3 separate regions of the Homo sapiens genome follow, and all the other regions are linked to region 1. The links are contacts of gene promoters, found by promoter capture Hi-C in blood cells and fetal thymus (Javierre and others, 2016). All regions are on one chromosome and are shown on one strand. Each heading gives the region's core, a stretch centred on a gene start or on the middle of the fragment in contact. The rest is flanking DNA. Distances are from core to core; before and after follow the strand shown.

Evidence for each region. The method cuts DNA at HindIII sites, captures the fragments that hold promoters and counts their contacts. A CHiCAGO score of 5 or more calls a contact.
Region 2: a fragment that was not itself captured here is called in contact with the fragment with the promoter of RTP2 in region 1 in 5 of 17 cell types (fetal thymus, naive B cells, total B cells and 2 more); the score reaches 8.5 in fetal thymus.
Region 3: a contact is called between a fragment that was not itself captured here and the fragment with the promoter of RTP2 in region 1, in 1 of 17 cell types (neutrophils). The highest score is 6.0, in neutrophils.

What each region holds. Positions count from the first base shown.
Region 1 is chr3:187,700,480-187,705,047 of GRCh38, reverse strand. RTP2 (receptor transporter protein 2) reads left to right here and starts at 2,491. Exons shown (of 2, transcript NM_001004312.2): 1 at 2,491-3,083. The coding sequence starts at 2,920. LOC100131635 (hCG1645011-like) reads right to left here and starts at 2,682. Exons shown (of 3, transcript NR_034062.1): 1 at 2,509-2,682. The HindIII fragment of the contact is 5,389 bases long and covers 1-4,033 here.
Region 2 is chr3:188,933,257-188,937,824 of GRCh38, reverse strand. No RefSeq gene overlaps it. Among named protein-coding and RNA genes, the nearest start is that of TPRG1-AS1, 12 kb to the left of the region's middle. RefSeq lists an enhancer at 1-448. The HindIII fragment of the contact is 244 bases long and covers 2,494-2,737 here.
Region 3 is chr3:188,760,474-188,765,041 of GRCh38, reverse strand. The region is part of intron 9 of LPP (LIM domain containing preferred translocation partner in lipoma); the gene reads right to left. Among named protein-coding and RNA genes, the nearest start is that of MIR28, 74 kb to the right of the region's middle. The HindIII fragment of the contact is 1,108 bases long and covers 2,161-3,268 here.

The DNA.
Region 1 (4,568 bases), core at 1,242-3,741:
TCACTCTTAATACAGATTCCAGAGCCTTTGGGGTGCTGGGAAGCATGGTGCACAGAATTTGGGCCCTTGGACACCAGCAGAAACAGAATGTCACTTGCCTGCAGTTGCTCTGGTTGCTGCCAATTAATAAAAGGGCAGCGTAAAATCTTCCTGGGAAGATTCCACTATGTGCCACTATTAGAGAGCCATGGACTGCTCTGTGTGGCCTCCCCTGAGATTCAGAGGTCAGCTCCCACCCAAAGAGTGGGAGCTTGGACCATGCTGTCGCTAAGTGCTACATCCTGGGGATGGAGAGGCCTTCCTAATATCTCTTGAAAATACTCCCCAGGGGATCTTGGATTCGCCCTATAGCATCGTCTACGGTTCTTTGAATTGCGGAGACACAGGAGAAGATAGGACACACCTTGCATTTGTCCTGGATCTATTTCCTGGTAAAGAAATATTATAAACCACTAGCTCATTTTACTCAATCTTCTTTTTTTGTTTTTCATTTTTGGCCTCCAGTAGCCTGTGGGACAACATATCCCATCAGTAACAATGGCTGGCAATAGAAGGGATTCTTCCCAGGACTGGAGTAGGTGGAGAGCAAATTTGTCTCCTCAAGAACATGTATTGAAATCTCTGAAGCAGAGGTGTATACAGTTTTCAGAACTCTCCAGGTGATTTTGATGTACACACCTTTTCAACTCTTCATTACTTTGTCATTTTAAGCTCCACACTGGCATTTCTTACATTACTCTAATAAGTAAAATTGAATAATAAATATTTTACAAAGCTCTTCATTAACTTGCATTCCAAATTGAAGGGGAAAAGTGATTCTTTTATCCATCCCCTCCCCCTTGCTGATTTGTTTGCAGAATACAGGTGCTCAGTATTTTATTTTATAAAGAAATAACAATTTCTTTATTTGAAAAAGTATTGCCTAGACAAAATATGTATAATGAAGCTGCCAGAGTGTGATGTGGCCACAGCTGTACACAATATACATTTGTGAGCTCTTAAATCGTGGGTTCTGGAATAAGATAGTGTCATTCGCGGAAAATTGAAGTAGTAATTGTGCTCACTGATTGTATGAAAAGTGAAAACAGTGCTGTTACACAGAAAGATGAATTCTATTGGTCTCTGCTTAGAAGCTGCTATGCTAAATTAAACCTGATACTAGGCCTAAGGGGATTGCATTATTTGAGGAAAAAAGAAAATACAGGTAAACCCTGACAATTCTCATCCTCTTTCTGTTTTTCCTTTATTGCCATTTGTTCTGGGAACAAGGGTATACTATTTCTCAGAGGTTCTTTCCTGGCACGAGGGTCTAGGCCAGGCCATAAGCTCATCTCAGCTTCGTTCAGTTCCTGGCCATTCATGGATCCCTCTGTCTCACCTGGTCTGGTAACTGGCTTCTAAGGGAATCCCCAGTGAGGTTTGAGCTACCCAGTCCTGAGAGCCTGGGCCAGTAATTTTCCATTTCCAGGCCTCAGTTGTTTTAATTCAATGTCAATAAATTTTGGTTAAGAAATGAAGAGTTCAAGAAATAAACCAGATTTTTAAAAATAAAAGAGCTCTTCTAGAGCTGTCAGTCAATGGTTCAAAGACAATTGTGTCCTTTCTGAGGTCTTTAGCACAAAGCCGCTAGAGTAACACTTTTCATTTCAAGAGAGAATCCAGTGACATTGTCCCTGACTTCACACTTCCTGAAAACCACTTGGCAACTCAACACCAAGAGCTTCCGGTTCTTAGCAACCTGTTTCACTTCTTGAAGCTCTTTACTGTTGGAACTCTGCGTGTCTAGGGATCCAGACTTCCGGGTTAAAGAATCGTAAGATGATTACAGTTGGAAGTTGGACCAAAGCTAGGGTAAGCAGCCATATGCCTGGTCTTTTCCATGCTCAAGGCAGCCTCCCTTCAGGTAACCGTGTCTTCACTTGGATTACCAAATTTGAAGTCAGATTCCCCTCTGGTTTCTAAAGAATTTGAATTGGGCATCACAGAGCTACGGATGCTCTCTTGCTCCAGCTCAGCAGTAATGGAGGCAGCAGGAGCCTGCAGCACAGAACAAACTCATTACCCCAGCAGCCACCTTAGCCTGGCTTGGGACCAGGAACTGAATATGGGCTCTAACAGTTCTATGACGCTATGAATCTGAAATGTTATTACTGTGCTTTGCATGGCATATGAAATTACATTCTAGCTCACCAACTGGTCTAAGATTGCCCTGGGCAAAGAGATGTTACTTCTCACTCAATTCCCTGTTAGGAGCACAATAGTACTAAAATAAATAAACAAATGAGCTCGGTTTCAGAAGGCCTAGATCTGAATCTTGGATGAGCCACTTAGGGGTTGCATAAACTTCAGTTTCCTGATCTGATCTGCTTTGGCCAGCACACAGGTCAAGCGGTTTGTGCTAGGCACATGGTAAGTGATGGTCACAGCATATCAGGGGGTGTGGAAGCAGCAGGCTCTGCCTTTCCCTGTCCCTCATTTCTCCTTGACTTCCTAGGGTGTCGTACTTACCATAGCACATGATGTGGAGAATGCTAGAAGAGCAGTTGGGTGAAGCAGGGCCACCAAATAGTCCTTGCCTCCTGGAGACCTCTGGAAATCCAGATGAGTGTGGTCTGAGGTTGGGCCTCCCACTGTGCTTGCTCCTCTCAGGCCTACCCAGCGCTGCCTCTGAAGCCTAACTCAGGGCCCTGAAACTCCCCCTTGGGGCTTCCCTTCTCCCCAGCCCTCACTCTTGGTGCCCTGCCTGGCTACCATGGTAACAGGTTCCAGGGTAACAGAGGAGGGAGCTGGGTCCTGTTTACTCCCAGTCCTGCCGATGAGGATTCTGACCGTAGACACTGAATTGTCCCGTACCTATCCGTGCTCTTTCTGTGTTCTCACCAGGGCTGAGCTCGAACTGCCACCTCTGCCAGCAGGACCATGTGTACCAGCTTGACCACTTGTGAGTGGAAGAAAGTCTTCTATGAGAAGATGGAGGTGGCAAAGCCAGCGGACAGCTGGGAGCTCATCATAGACCCCAACCTCAAGCCCAGTGAGCTGGCCCCTGGCTGGAAGCAGTACCTGGAGCAGCACGCCTCAGGCAGGTGAGAGGTTCAGTGGGGAGGGACCTTGCAGACAGCCCCTGGGTCACAGCTGTGGGGTACTTTCCAAGGAGAGACAGAGCCCAGTCGCGGGCTTATTCTGGTGTCAGCTCAGATGGGGAAAAAGACAAAGACAGCCGGCTGGGTCAGAGAGTTCTTGCTTTTAATCCTAGCAATACCACTAACTCCCTGGGTGACCCTGAGAAAGTTATGTTCCATCTTTGGGTCTTAGTTGTCCACATTAAATGAAGAGCTGTAATATCATCTATGTCCCTGCAATCTCTGACATTTAGAGTGAGTTGGAACTGAAGGAAGGAGGCCATGAGGTCCATTGGGGAAAGTTTTAATCTAGGAGTTGGGGGAATGCAGGGGGTACAGCTATGCTCTGTTCCTAGATATGTTTAGTGAATTAATCCAATTTGATCTGAATACATAAACATTTATTGACCACCTGCTGTGTGCTACGAACTGGCTCTATATAGCTAAGTAGCCTTGTAAACTTGGCAAGTCTGTTTCCCTTTCTGGCTCTCAGTTTTTATATTTACAAAATGAGGGGGTTGGTCTTAGATAATAGATCCAATCCACTCTAGCTCTATTATCTATGCACCTGTGATAAAAAGATTTAGCTTTGAGCAAAACTTTCTTTAGGAACTTAGAGCCCAGGGTCCCACTCTTTATAGGAGCTGCACATCTACCACAGGGCAAAGAGTCCTTGAGGCCAAGGGGACGAGGCCGTCTAAAGTCCACATGCCTTTCCTCCTTTTAGATCATGATTGGGGACTGGGACTACAGAAATTCCTCCCCAGACTACCTCAAGTCCATCTGTAGTGTCTGTGCAGGCCTTTTTCCTGTGTCCTTGGATTCAAGAGAGGCCAGTAAGTGGCTGTGCTCTGGAGATGTAGCCAGAACATGGACACAAAGGCTGGGTTGTTCACGTGTATGTGTGTGAAGCTTCTCATGGTGCAGAATGGTGCTGAGGGTGGGAACAGAGGAGGCAAGATGTGGGTAGGGAGCTTACGTTTGTACTCTTGTCCCAAGACCTGGAATTATTGGAGTAAACCTGCCTTGTGAAAAAAAGACAGAAAACCAGAGGTTGGCTGATTCATGTCAGTTCCATCAACTCAAGAAGCATCTATTGGGTACCTGTTATGTGCTGAGCACTGGCTCTGCCTCTAACTAGCTGTGTGTACATGGATGCCTCTCTTACTATCTGGGCTTCTGTCTCTTCTCAGTGAAATAAAGGGCTGACTAGATGCTTCTTAAGCTCGCCTGCCCCCAGATCTGATATTTTTGAATTTAAGATGTGAGGCCTAACTTGATGTAGGTGAAGCAATTCTGGGTTGGTTTGATGTAAAAAGGTGTAGAAGGAGACTGAAAACATAAAGCATTTGAACTGCCTGGTGGAAGAGGTGCAGATGCCTGGAAACTTGAGTGCCCAGGATCCAGAGTTTCGGGGCTGAGCTCAGCAAGCTCATGTCTCCTCTTGCT
Region 2 (4,568 bases), core at 1,366-3,865, 1.2 Mb before region 1:
GAAGCCCAGCCAAGTACCAGACTGGTGTGAAATAATTTCCCCAGGTGAAGAGTACCACACTATTAGTCGACCGTGCAATTGAAGAAGAGAACGTTGCTTTTCACCAGTCATCTAGGGTCTGGAATGGGAAGGCACGAGGCCAGTGTGATGTAGACATACTCAGCTCTCAAAGAATTTTTCCTTGAAAGAGAAAAACAAAGGCAGGATGAGAACTCAATCAGCTGCTTCCTTCGGGAGACTGGGTGTAGCAGGACGGGCCCCTCACAAATATGCCAAGAATGAAGCTTTTAAATTACCACCACCAAGAATACTGGGTCAGAAGTTCCTAGAATTACTTCCTACTTGGATCAAAGAAGCATAGAGGTACAACAAGGTCTGACATCAGATGTGAAGTGATTTTGAACCCTGACCCACACTCCGATCCCCTTGGAGAACATAACTACTCCTGGAGGTGGAAGCGGATCCTGCCTTAATGGATAAAAACTGAGACAAGTCTTTTGTTCTTTTTAATACCCCAAAGGGTTGAGCTTAAGCCTTTCTGTAGGAGCAAAGACATCACCGTAAGGCAAACAGTGCTAGTACAGAACCATAAAACCCTTCTCAGCATCTAAAGGATACCCATTATGTTCATCTCAAAGTCAGAGTTATTTACTTTGCCTTTTACGTTGACATTCTTTTCTCTACTATGATAGTTAGCAAAATTGAATGAGAAAAGGCCCAAGTTCAAAATCCGCTCTGCTGCTTACAGGCCTTCTTGGTTTCAATAGTCAAACCCAGTGATGATTCTTGCCTGAGCAATCTCAGGTTGTTATGAGGAGTAGAGAATATGTAAATATGGGAAAGGGCTTTGTGACTATTCAGCTCTCCACATGTAAGCGGTTGTAATCATTCACTGACTAAACCTATCAGGTGGATTTTCTTCAACCTCAGTTGCTGCTTCATTCTCCCTTAGGGTCATGAAGTATCAGCAAGAGGCTGTTACTAGTTTTCTTGGGCTGCCTCCTGTCTGTCTCAGTCTGTATCTACAATGGAACCGACAATGAATCATATCTGTGGAGCACCAGGCAACTCAGCACTCCAGTCTGTTAAAGTGTCTTGCACTGCTTATATTACAGCAAATAAAACAGGAAAGGAAAATATATTTATTCCCATCATTAATAATCCATCATGCCTAGTCAAATTGGTCATAGTAAACTGGAACAATCACTCTTGCCTACAACAGTCTCAATATAAGGGAGTTCATTGTGCTAGCTGGGAACTTGGGACCAGATCATCCTGGATCTCAGTGGGCCACTTTCTGGCTGAGTGACCCCACAAAGGTCACTTAATTCCTCATAATTTCCTTATAGATATAATCTTGGTTAATAATAACAACCTATGTAAAGAGTGAGCATATTAAGTTAAATGAGGAAATAATGATAAAAGTGTTACATAGTAAGTCCGCAAGCACATTTGGGTTCCCTTCTTCCTTGCAGGTGAAGGGAAAATAAATAATAATAATGATAGCTGGCTGGGCAAGGTAGCTCACACTTGTAATCCCAGTACTTGGAGAGGCTAAGGAGGGAGGATTGCTTGAGCACAGGAATTTGAGACTAGCCTGGGCAATATGGCAAAACCCTAGCTCTACAAAAATGCAAAAATTAGCTGAGTACGGCAGCATGCACCTGTAGTCCTAGCTACTCAGGAGGCTGCAGTGGGAGAATAGCTTAAGTCTGGGAAGTTGAGGCTGCAGTGAGCTGTGATTGTGCACTGCACTCCAGCCTGGGTGACAGAGCAAGACCCTGTCTCAAAAAAAAAAAAAAAAAGTAAATAATGATAGGTAATACTTACATAGCATCTATGATACAGCAGGCACTGTTCTGAGAGTTCTACTTATTAATATATTAGCTCACCTAGTCTTTGCAACTCTGAGATAGAATGCTGTTTTCATCTAACCTTTACAGGTGGGTAAGCTAAAGCTCAGTGAGATTATATACTTACCTGGGGTCACATAGCTCACAGGGACAGAACCAGGATTTAACTCAGGTGCTCTGACACTACAGTGCTGTGCTAACCTACCATGCTACAACGCTGCCCATGATTATGGATATTAATCCACAGGCTTCTTTCAACTTTATATTCTGAGAGCTGAAACATAGGCTTTTTACCCCTAATTAATATGGCATGTCTTCCTAGACAATATATATTCTAATTACATTTTTAATATCTGTCATTTGTAATGATTCAGCTTCTGATAAGCTTGTTAACTGAATGTCATTTTTTTCTCCACCTAAACTACCTTTGGAAAGTTCACACACATCATGCAGTTATTTATGATTTGAGGAAGAGCATCATATATGTAAACTAAAAAATGTTTATTAAAGTTAGAATTAATAATGATTGATTTGATTTCACTGATGAGTTAATTGGGGAAATGAACAGGTAATTGGGTATTTACAAAAGAAGGTCAAGAATGGTTTGTGGGAGTAGTCAGTCAGATCCATTTCCTAAGCTTTTGCTCAGCCTTTCCTTCCTAAAACCCAGCCTGCTGGGGAGCAGGAAAAGAAAGCAAGGCACCGTACATTTGCTTACGACTGACACACTTTTCTCACAAAAGCTGTGCTCTGATCTGATCTACTCTGACACCTCCAAAGGCACTTTTGTCTACAGAATAAAACCAAACCTCATCTGTTTCTCAAGGGTCCTCCGCACTCGTCTGGCTCCAGACCGCTTGTTCATGACTGTCTTCCAATAAGCTTCAGACCCTTGCCATTCCCCCAAAAAGATTTTTCCCCCCAAAATCTCTAAGCTCTCCATTGCTCCAACAGGCCCTTCCCTCTCTAATTCTGCCAAAGTTCTAGTAAGTTTTCAAGACTGTTTCTGGGGTGTCCAATCTTTTGGCTTCCTTGGGCCACATTAGAGGAAGAATTGTCTTGGGCCACACATAAAGTACATTAACACTAACAGTAGCTGATGAGCTTGAAAAAAAAATCACCGGCTGGGTGTGGGGGCTCACGCCTGTAATTCCAGCACTTCGGGAGGCTGAGGCAGGTGGATCGCCTGAGGTCAGAGTTCGAGACCAGCCTGGCCAACATGGTGAAACCCCGTCTCTACTAAAAATACAAAAATTAGCTGGGCGTGGTGGCAGGTGCCTGTAATCCCAGCTACTTGGGAGGCTAAGGCAGGAGAATCGCTTGAACTCAGGAGGCAGAGGTTGCAGTGAGCTGAGATCATGCCATTGTACTCCAGCCTGGCGCAACAAGAGCGAGACTTTGTCTTAAAAAAAAAAATCACCAAAAAATCTCATAATGTGTTAAGAAAGTTTATAAATTTGTGTTGGGCCAAATTCAAAGCTATTCTGGGCTGCATGAGGCCCACGGGCCATGGATTATACAAGCTTGGACTGTACCTTCTCTACTTGTATGTCCCACATACCCTCAGTTCAGAATTAGCTTTTTCTTTCTTCCATTTCCAATGGCACAAAATAATACTTCTATTTTAGAACTGATCCCTCATTATGTTGCACTGAATTTTGTATGTGTGTCTACTTGTTCCACCAGAGTGAGCCCCTAAATAGTAGGGTGAAGGTCACATTCATCTCTGAATGGTCCTTCATTAACATAGTTCCTGGCAAGAGGAAGTTTTCAATAAATTTGGTTTACTTGAATTGAGCTTCTTATACAGCAGAGTGAAATTATTTTGTGACTACAGTTTGAGAGCATACTCCCCAAGGCTAAAACGGACAATGAACTTTTTTCAACTAACTGTAAGATAGTATAAGCCATCAATCTCTTAAAGCCAGAGGGAAATTCACCTTTAAGCACTTGGAGATTTATTTAACTAAAGGAGTCATTCCACCAGAAAGCATCATTGTGATTTCTCTCATTATCTAAAATGAATAAGAATTATTATAATGATAAATTAGTGGCAGGAGACACTGATTTTTAGAAAGGAAAATTAATAATGCACAGTGAATAAAATCTCATTTAGATGTTCTTTGCACATGCTCTCCAATAATAATCATTCAATTTATAGCACTTTACAGTTAGTGCATCCATATATAATTTCATCTTCACATCAACACAGAAAAGCTAGTCTCATTGCCAACTTACAAATAACAAAACTGAGTCTAGGCAGGCAAGGAAACAAATAACTATTAAGTACCAGAGTTGGGTCTCAAATCCAGGACCCCTGACTATATCCTGGGTTATCTTCTCCCAGGCATTGCCAGCCCAGGAACCTCCCAAGGGTAAGTCCTGCAGATGAGCAGCTTCCTCTCCAGGCCCCTGGGCATCCTAGTCAGAGGCCTCTGTGTATCTGTGCCACCCCAGCTACACTTGGTAGAGCACACTTGAGGTGTCTCAGTGCTATAGAACCACCCACTTCAGGGTGTTTCACTGTGCATAGTCCTCTTAGGCCTCTAATGACATTTCAGAAAATTACTTTCACTTTTTTAATCAAAGTCCCCTGCCTTTACGAAACAATCAGTGTCTGACTCTCTAAATCTCTTCTTCCTATCATAATTGCCATCCCCAGTAAACTGCCTTATTTTTTTCAAATATCTTCTTTCAAAATGAAATTAAGCTTTG
Region 3 (4,568 bases), core at 1,465-3,964, 1.1 Mb before region 1:
ACAAGTTAGAATGTTTTAACTGTAGCCATTTGATGACATAAGGGAGCAAAAGGCTGCTAGTGTGTTGGTCACTAATGCGCCAAGTTTCAGGTACCTTAAAGTGTTTAGCCTCCTGTGGAGTTGGCCTCCTATTTCCAGAGGCCCTTTAGTCATTTGGATTTCAACTCTAGTAAAAATGTCTGTACCACCTTCTGCTGTCAGAGAGTTAGGACCTGGAGTCCATCCACTGGGAATAAAAGCACTGGTTTGGGGGAGGATCCTTGGCTGCCACTTCATAAATAGACTTTTGCTGAGAATTTCTGATGCACTCTGTCCCTAGGCCCAGACTCCTTGGTAATGCTAGGAATAAAACAGCAATTCTTTTTCTAAAACTATACTTATGAGTAAGGCTGTCTCTTTATGTGCAGAAGGGTACATAAGCAGGAGGCACTGTTGCTGCCCTTCATATTCATACCAACATAAAAATCTTCTTAAGCAAAGCATGAACCTCCGCTTTTAATATGTGTCCTTATATTCCTTCCATGACATTTATTTATTTCAGTATTTCCATAGCAACTACAGCCAAGAAATTGCCCCAGATTTAGAGGGTTTCTATAGTGTATCACATTATACTAAAGGGGAAAAAAAAAGCAATGATAAAAATTCTGTTAATCAGATTAAGCACTTATATTAGTAAATAATTTCATGTATACAAAATATCACAACTGCTTATTCCTTATCTGTGAAGACATGGGAGAAATTAATATCTCCCTTTAGTAAATGAGGACACTGATACTCAGAAGCTAAATGATTTACCCAAGGTCACACCAGGAGAGCTAGAATTAGGATAAATACATTCTATTTATATCACTTCCTAACAAAGTTTTAGTGATCTTTACTTTAATCTGTTTACATATTCAAATCTATAAGAATAACCAAAACTAGGCTTTCAAGAGACATATCACCAAAGAAGAAAAGCATCTCATTGATTTTGCTAATAATTACACAAACTTAAAATAACTAAGACATAATGTGCTTATTAAATTAGTTCAGAAAATATAAATAAACTTCTGCCATAGGGGATAGTTTGCATTTTAACATATAGTTTCATTATTGTTGATGGTTCTGTAAATTAGAAAAATATTTCTAAAGAAATCTAGCAAGGTAATGCAAAAGTCCTCCAGATTAAATTTGATTTGGTAATATAAATCAAAGAATTTATGCTAAGGATGTAATTCAAAATAAAAAATAAAATTTTTATTAACTATCTATAGGCATGTTATTTACAATTCTAAAAGATTGCAAAACACACAATACATTTTGACTGGCAAATGGTTTTAAAATGAAGTGTGTAATCTAAATGTAAAACTAAACAGATAAAAATCTAAAAATGAATACTAACAATGCAAAACTATATGAACATTTGTATTATGTTAATAAATAAAAAATAGAAAACAAAATATGTAAAATGATTAAAGAGAATTACAATGCTATACTGAATCAAACTGTTTAATCATAACTACTTAAGCACAAAGATTAAGAACAAACTCAATAAACCACAGGAAAATATTAAAAATCATTGAACCAAAGCTGCAGACATTACTGGTGCATTTTCCCTCAAAATCATGTAAATTTTTAATTTTAATAGGATCTTAAGTTGATCAACAACCAATTTAGGCAGAAGTAAATTTAATTTACATTAGACTGGTCTCATTCCTGAACTCAGAGTATCAAACATGCTGGTCCTTATACAAAAATAATTAAGCCACTATCTTGAATATTCTCATTCCATCAATTAAAAAAAAAAAAAAGACAGGCACACTGACTGATGGCCAAGGGCTAGGTTTGCTCTGGTTTGTATGGAATACCTTTTAGACATCAGTTTTCAACAGTGTAACCAAAGGCAATTTTGCTGGATCACACAGAATATGCTTCCTGTTCTAAGGCTTTTGGTTCCAAGAGAGACGCATAGTTCTAGGATTCTCCTTAATGCAAACTATCTTCAAAGCCAACTTGTTTTATTTCATTTGCCCAATTTCCTCAACCTCCTTACACTTCTAGTATGCAGCTTATTGGACATATAAAAGTTCAGAAGAAATTAAAGTTCTGATACATCCATCTGAGGGCTTGAGGACTGTGCTGAACTCGAATCAATATTGAACAAGGGTCTTTGGTAAAGCTTAACTGAATTCTGATAAGAATTAAATTACATTTTAGAGTCACCACGAATAGATCTCATTAAAGAAAAACCTTGATTAAATGTTCTTATGAGGGAAAGAAGTAAAAAAAAAAAAATGGTTAGAATTTCCATTATTTGAATTCACCCAGTTCTTCCAAGTACGCGATTAAATATCTCCCGGATAGTTTTCCTTCTCATAAGCATAGTATAGTAACAACAAACCAAAGAAGAAGGGGCTGGCATCCTACAGAATCACAGAGACCCATACTATGCCTGGAATGGAGATAGAAACTTGAGCCCACACACTGTAGAAACCTATTATTTAATCAGATTAGACCTTCTCCAGTTTTGTTACGCACTCAGAAAAGCAAGCAAACATGTAAAAATGCGAGGAGTATGTCTGAAAGGTTATAATAATTTCCTAAAGCCCAGTGAATTTCACTGCACATGTAAGGTTCCCACATTCAGAAATATTAAACAGTTTCAGAAACATCATTAAAGTTAATCCCAGAATAACATTTATTCCACTACTTTTCCTGAAGAGGCCCAGTGTGCTTTACTAGGATTGTCTCATTTCTTCTTCATGGAAAATAACTGCCATCGTCCCCATTATATAGATGAGGCAACTGATACTTAGAAAGAGTAAATAATTTTCCCAAGGAGGGGAGGCACTAAGTGACGTAACGAAATTCAAATTCATGTTCTTCCCACCCTGTTACACTGTTTCCCAATACTGTCTATATGATTTCAAGCTAACAAGGGTTGAAACAAAACAACTGAAGAAGGCTGCTGCCACAGTAGCATCATTAAAGTAGCAAAAATCAACTATGGAGTCAAAAAGGGATAAAAAATAGACAGGAGCTATAAAAAAACACAGCAGTATGTGTTTACTTGGTGTAAGGACAACCCTGGGTGCCTCTACACACTCTGCCAACATCACTACCTTAGGGCTCGTGGCAATAAATAATTTCATAAACGTGGTGCCAAGCCATTGTGAATGACACCCGGTTTAGTCTGTTTAAAAAGGCAAGGAATTATGTAATGCCTTTCTTTTTTCAATAAAGATTTCAAAGATATTTGAAATATTCTTATATTCTAAAGAGGTAAGCTTTTGTTTACTAGACTTTCGCTTATGCATAATTGCTCCTTCCAGATCAACAGTACATTACTTTGTTTATCTTTATGTTTAGGAAAATGAAAACCATGTAGCATCTGCAAAGAATCTAAGACTGTGGAGCGTGAATAACGGAATGCAGCCTTGGTTCTGACACTAATGATAGGTCATACGAAGTCGCTTTCCTCTTCTGTATGTCTTGGCATTCTCATTGCTAAAGAGAGTAATTACGCAAATGATTTTAAGATTTTTTTTCCAACTCTACCACTGTATGGCTCTACATGTGTTTAAGCTACCTTTGGAAAGAAATGATGTTACATGTATTAAGTTACCTTTGGAAAGAAAACGAAATAAAATTGAACCTAAGACAGATGCAAAGCCATATTTAATCCTACGAAGCCTTAATCTTGATGAACTTTCAGATCTGTGCTACAGACCCCAAGGTTACAATGGGTTAGAGCTGCCAAGTTATAGGAAAATACCAACCAGGCCAAAAACGTCTTCAATAAATGTGAACCTTGTAAAGCCAAGTATGACTCCCAATACCTTGGTAAAGAAACCAAGGTGTCTTTTATGTTGAAATCTCTGGGCACTGAGGGACAAACCATGACTGTTTTGTGGGTTTACATAACAAACAAACAAAAAACACTACTTTTCCCATCAACATGTGTTAAACAAAGATTAAAATCATGCTGAAGGATAGCAAAGAAATTTACAATAGATGAAAAAAGTCTGTGTTCATTCATCAAATTACTCTACCAGAGAATAGTTTAACAGGTAGATTAAGTAAGTAGCATTGTAAAACGCTAAGGTAACATGACTGAGAATTTTTTAGTTACCCAGGTATATTATTAAAATATAGTTTTTGTGTTCTGTAATAAAAGAAAACAATGATTAGCTCAGTCAGCATTACTGTTCATTTCTCTTTAAGGTGCTTTATAATAAACAGTTCCCCTGTTTGCATCATTAAAAACCTGTTGGATAAGAGGGGGAAGAAACATTTTGGTAGATAAAAATGGACTCAAAGGGCCCAGTATTCTGGAAGAGGACTGACAAGTCCAGAGATTCTGTAAAGTTTCCTTGAAACTACTGGGCACTTCAAATGTAGGGTGAGATCTTATAAGAGGTGTGACTCAGCTACTTGGAAAGCTTTCTGATGCTTTAAGAAAGAAAATTTTAGCTTGTACATACATGCTAGAAAGCCACAGGCTGATGATCTTCCCAGCAGACCACTAACTGAATGGCAGTCCCATGCTAATACACCTTTCTGACTGCTTATGAATGGGGGATGTGTAG